Linked DNA regions of Homo sapiens: region 2 is linked to region 1. The links are contacts of gene promoters, found by promoter capture Hi-C in blood cells and fetal thymus (Javierre and others, 2016). All regions are on one chromosome and are shown on one strand. Each heading gives the region's core, a stretch centred on a gene start or on the middle of the fragment in contact. The rest is flanking DNA. Distances are from core to core; before and after follow the strand shown. Region 1 holds the start of MAOA (monoamine oxidase A). Region 2 overlaps CASK (calcium/calmodulin dependent serine protein kinase).

What was found. The method cuts DNA at HindIII sites, captures the fragments that hold promoters and counts their contacts. A CHiCAGO score of 5 or more calls a contact.
Region 2: a fragment that was not itself captured here is called in contact with the fragment with the promoter of MAOA in region 1 in 2 of 17 cell types (naive CD8 T cells and naive B cells); the score reaches 5.6 in naive CD8 T cells.

The regions. Positions count from the first base shown.
Region 1 is chrX:43,655,016-43,657,689 of GRCh38, reverse strand. MAOA (monoamine oxidase A) reads right to left here and starts at 1,391. Exons shown (of 15, transcript NM_000240.4): 1 at 1,276-1,391. The coding sequence starts at 1,348. RefSeq lists an enhancer at 2,498-2,557 and a silencer at 2,489-2,674. The HindIII fragment of the contact is 10,667 bases long and covers 1-2,674 here.
Region 2 is chrX:41,710,946-41,713,619 of GRCh38, reverse strand. All of the region lies in intron 5 of CASK (calcium/calmodulin dependent serine protein kinase), which reads left to right. Among named protein-coding and RNA genes, the nearest start is that of GPR82, 12 kb to the left of the region's middle. RefSeq lists enhancers at 1,108-1,608, 1,609-2,109. The HindIII fragment of the contact is 3,582 bases long and covers 1-2,674 here.

The DNA.
Region 1 (2,674 bases), core at 142-2,641:
AACTCAGAAATTATTAACACCTAGTAGGGGGAGGATAGGTCAGTGTGGTATTCTAGCCAGGGATGAAAGGCAACAAAATTCCTAATTTTCAAACATTTTACCAATGATGGCAACATAGGCGACAATATATCAATCATGATGAGGCTTCCAGGAAGATATTGGAAAGCCTCATGCACCACTCACTTGGTTAGCCACAAATCCAAGCCAGGACCAGGGGCACCCTGGCCCACCAACTGGCTCATCAGAAGACAAGATTCAGGTGGTGGGAGCTCTTAGTGAAAGGAGGAAGGAGGATACAACAGGGCACTCAGCCCCTGCTTCATAAAGGGATTCTCTTTGGACAATAAATGTCCTACACCTTCCTGCAAGTTCATATATATATATACACACACACAGTTCATATATATATATATATAAACACAGTTCATATATATATATATAAACACAGTTCATATATATATATAAACACAGTTCATATATATATATAAACACAGTTCATATATATATATAAACACAGTTCATATATATATATAAACACAGTTCATATATATATATAAACACAGTTCATACACACACACACACACACACACACACACACACACACAGGAATAGTTTAAGAGCTCACCCCCTCTTCTCCTCTTTTTTTTTTTAACCTTTTCTTAAAGGAGTCTACCTCCTTCCTCTTCACCTACTAAATTTTCTACGGAAAATAGAGAAGAGCAGGACTGGAATAACACTACTGCTCCCTCAATACTACAGAAATCTGTATCCTGATGTTCTGTTTAGGGCAAAGGATATGAAATCAGTGAGGCAAAGCAGCCACCTCAGGAATTAGTACTGCAGGTCTTAAATGGGAGAAAATCGTTCAGCCACTTACAAGCTAGGTGATTCGACCTCAAGAGAGTTATTGAAACTCCCCAGACCTCAGTTTCTTGGTTTTGCAAAACGGGGATGAATTTAGTTCCCACCTCACAGGACTGTTGAGGACTGAGAAAATCCACGTAAAGTGCTAAATACAACTGCACAGCAAGAGCTAATTAAATATTAGTATTTAATAGTAGTAGTAGTAAAATTATTGTGTCTGCCTCCCCCAGTCACACCACCAGCAAAACTGGCACAACCCCCACTCCTACCTCGCAGGATATGGGGCCAAGCCATGGCTACACTACACTCTCGCATGCATGAGAGACCCCCAAACACCACAAGAGCTACTGTAGGTTCCCCTACCCCTCACTGGCCAGGGTCCCCCAGGCCACCGCTACGGTCCACACTGACCTGAAATGCCACCTCCGATCACGACTACGTCGAACATGTGGCCCGCGATACTCGCCTTCTCTTGATTCTCCATGCTTTGGCTGACACGCTCCTGGGTCGTAGGCACAGGAGTGGGGACGGCAAAGGGTGGGAAGGACCCTTCTATCAACTCCCCCGGGGAGCCCGGGGGCGGAGCCGATCCTTCTTTTGATACCCGGGGGGAGCCGGGCACTGTGGGCGGGGCGAACCCTTTTGCTGATACTCCGGGAGCGCCCAGGGGCGGAGCTGATGTTTCAGCTGATACCCGGGGGGAGCTGGGCACTGAGAGCGGGGCGGACCCTTGTACTGACACTCGGCGAGAGTTATTAGGTTTAGAATGTCCTTGTGTCGGCAGCTGGAAAGGATTACTGGGTGCAGGAGGTTCTTGTATTGAACCCCGCGGAGTGTCAGGCACTGAGGTGGGGGTAGACGCCTGCCTTGACACTGGGGGGATGTTATGGGGTGCAGGAGGTGCTTGTGGCGACACTGGGGAAATGTTATTGGGTAGAGGTGGTCCTGGTACCAAACCCCAGGGGAAGCTGGACACTGAGGATGCGGCAGACCCTTGTACTGACACTCGGGGGTGTTACTGGGTGTAGGAGGTGCTTGTATTGACACTTGCGAAAGGTCATTGGGTATAGGAGGTCCCCGTACAAATATCCAAGTGTAGTCGGACACTGAGGTCAGGTTGGAATCCGGGGGCAGGGTCGGTCCTTTTACCAAACCCCGTGGGGTGCTGAACCCTGAGGAGAAGGCAGACCCTTGCAATGACTCTACGGGGGAGTTTACGGGCGGGGTAGGTCCTGTTACTAATACCCAGGGAATGCCGGTGTCCTGATTGGAGGCTGTGACGGCCCCATCGGAGGAGTTCGAGCTGGTGGTAGACTTGGGGATCCGACTGCTCGGGTTGTAAGCGCTGAAACCCCGGAGGCCACTCTTGGAGTCGGAGTCAGTACTCTCGCTAAGACCGGTAGTGCTGATTGGGGAGTGTATGCTGGAGCTCCAGGAGGCGGCCTCGGCAGTTGAGGACGTGCTCCACTGGGAACTGGCTAGCGGATCCGAGACGGACCGCCACTCAGAACGGACGCTCCATTCGGACAGGCTGTAGGAGGTGTCGTCCAAGCTGGAGTCCGGGTTCGGGACCTGGGCAGTTGTGCCCCCGGCTTCGGGCGGGCCCTCCGCCTTGCGCTCGGTGCCGGTGCCGGTACTGGTGCGGGTACTGGTGCCGGTGCCGGTACTGGTGCGGGTACTGGTGCCGGTGCCGGTACTGGTGCGGGTACTGGTGCCGGTGCCGGTGCCGCCGGGGAAGGAGGCTGAGGCGTTTGTGCTCATGTTTCTGGAGCACGCTGGGCGCTGGGGGCGGTGTTCTGCTTCCCGCAGC
Region 2 (2,674 bases), core at 75-2,574, 1.9 Mb after region 1:
ACGCTCATGTTTTCATTGGTGCCCATACAAAAGAGGCTCCCTTAGCCATAGCATTTACTACAGCCAGAGTAATGGATGTATTCAGTGAGTGAATATCTCAGTCATCATAAAGCCAGTCCCACATGGTCTACATAGGAAGCAAATGAGCTGCTGCTTCAGGGTACACCACTTGGCATTTATAGGTGAAATTGGACAGTCCCCTTCTCAGGGTAAACAGGTCCAGTCCACCACGCTGGCCATTCCCTTGGAAATAACCTCCTGTGTGTCTGGAAATCTACCTTTCCATCTGTGATTGTTCAATAATGAACTGCAGGTCCTACCTCAACCAAACATGCTCTTCCACTCTTGAGCATTTAAAACCAAAGAAACTGCTCTGACAGTTCCTTCACAGTATACCCTCCAGTTTCAATAGTTTATCAGTTTTACCCTTTCCCCACATTGACTACCCTTCTTGATAACCACAGGTTGTGTAACTGTCCAGTGGGTTCATCTTGCCCGCTGTCTAGACAGAGCTGATTTATCAATACAGGGAAATTGCAATAGAAAAAAAGTAATTCACGCAGAACCAGCCGTGCAGGAGAGCGGAGTTTTATTATTACTCACATCAGTCTCCCAGAAGACTCGGGGATCAGAGATTTTAAGGATAATTTGGTGGGTAGTGGGCTGTGAATCAGGAGTGCTGATTGGTTGGCTCTGGAATGAAATCATAGGGAGTCAAAGCTGTCCTCTCATGCTGATTCAGTTCCTGGGTAGGGGGCCACAGAACTGGTTGGCAGGTCCAGGTGGGGCCATCCAGTTGTTAGAAATGCAAATACCTGAAAAGATATCTCAAAAGGCCAATCTTAGGTTCACGATAGTGATGTAAGTTGCAAATCTTATGACCTCCAGAATAATGGCTGGTAACATTTAGAATTCCAGCCCCTCTCATCCGTACTTGGTGGCTGGTGGCCTTTCATTCGTTTTACAAGAACAGTTTAGCTTTTGGGAAGGGCTATTATTTAAACTATAAATTAAATTCCTTCCCAAGGCTAGTTTGGCCTATGCCCAGTAATGGACAAGGACAGTTTAGAGGTTAGAAGCAAGATGGAGTTGGTTAGGTCTGATATTTTTCACTGTCATAATTTCCTTAGTTACAGTTTTGCAAAGGCAGTTTCAATCGTAAAGGTACTTCAGTGTCCTTGCATAATTTTTCCTTGGGGGTCAGCTTTGAGGCTAGTGGCCTGGGCTCAGACAGACAAAGTCTAACCTAGCATTCTCCTTTAATTTCATTTAGCTATTAGAGATAAACACCAAAGAATTTAGTATTTCACTTTTTCATATTAGTCTGCATACCCTCATGCAACCAGTGAACCAACTCCCCGGGAGTTGCATCCATCTCTGAATTCCACCAGTAACTTTTACCTTTAGTAGCTGATTGCAGCACAGCTGCAGCTCAAAACAGTGGGAAACCACATGGCCACCCAGGAATCAAAGATTCCTCATCTCCCACCTTTTTGACGCAGGATTTTTCTTGGCCACTTTGCCAATCAGGGACCTCCATGGCCAGCAACGCCCCCCTACCTGGCCTTTGCTTGGCCATGGGCCTGCTGAGGCGTCAGGCCCACTCACCCCACCTGTGCTATGGCTTGTACCTGCGTTCAGCAGTTCCCAAGCTCCTGTCCTTATCCACGAAGAATGAGGATACGCTGACAATTTGAAGGGTGAGGATGGGTAGGGAAGAATTTTATTGAGCAGCAGAACAGCTTTCAGCAGAGAGGGGACACGGGTGGCCCCCCCACCCCTGCAGTCGGGTGGTTTGTCTCTCTCAGTGTGGCTGGGTCCATGGTATTTTATGGATTCAGAATGGGGCATGTGTGCTGATTGGTTTGTGAGTATGCAGAAAAGGTTAAAGCGAAGACACCACTCAAAGGTGGGCACAACAGTGTAGAAAACCAATTAGGGAAGGGTAGGTATATGTAAAATAGGTGAGGGGCGGGGATCAATCAGAGGAAAGCACACCAAACAGGAAGACAGGTTCTCAATCCAGTCCATGGATTTACCCGGGACATGTAGGTAGGCTTTAAACTGTCTTCAGCTTGAAGGTCAATTTCACTGAGGACTCGCCCCTATCTGTCTAGGCATTTTGTCTGCCTCCTGCTGCTGTCACTTTCATTCTTTCTCTTCCCAAACCACATGTTTCTGTGAGCCAAGTCCATTCTAGCAAACCCTACCTCACTGAAACCAATTCATAGTTTGGAAGGAAAACAAAACTCACAAAGTACTTTTCTACTCTTTCAACAACAATTAACACAGATGATTTCTGTGACCAAATGTGTGGGGATTTCTCCCCAACCAACAAGCAAGCAAGCAATTCTGCAGTTGACACCAGCTAGGTGTCCTCTAATTCAGTTATGTTCTGACACTATGTACCTAGAGATAGCATCAGATTCCACAGGTTGAGGGCTTAGTCCCCAAGACTGGCCCCCACCTTTAGATGCCAATGGCTAGCCCCAGGCTGTGTCACCTATGCTTCTGACTGACTAGCTATAAATCAGGGATCCCACGGCTCCCTCTTTGGGCCCAATTAATTTGCTAGAGCGCCTCACAGAACTCAGGGAACCAGTTACATATACCCGTTTATTATAAAGGATACAGATGAAAAGATGCATAATCCTGGGGCACGGAGCTTTCCTGT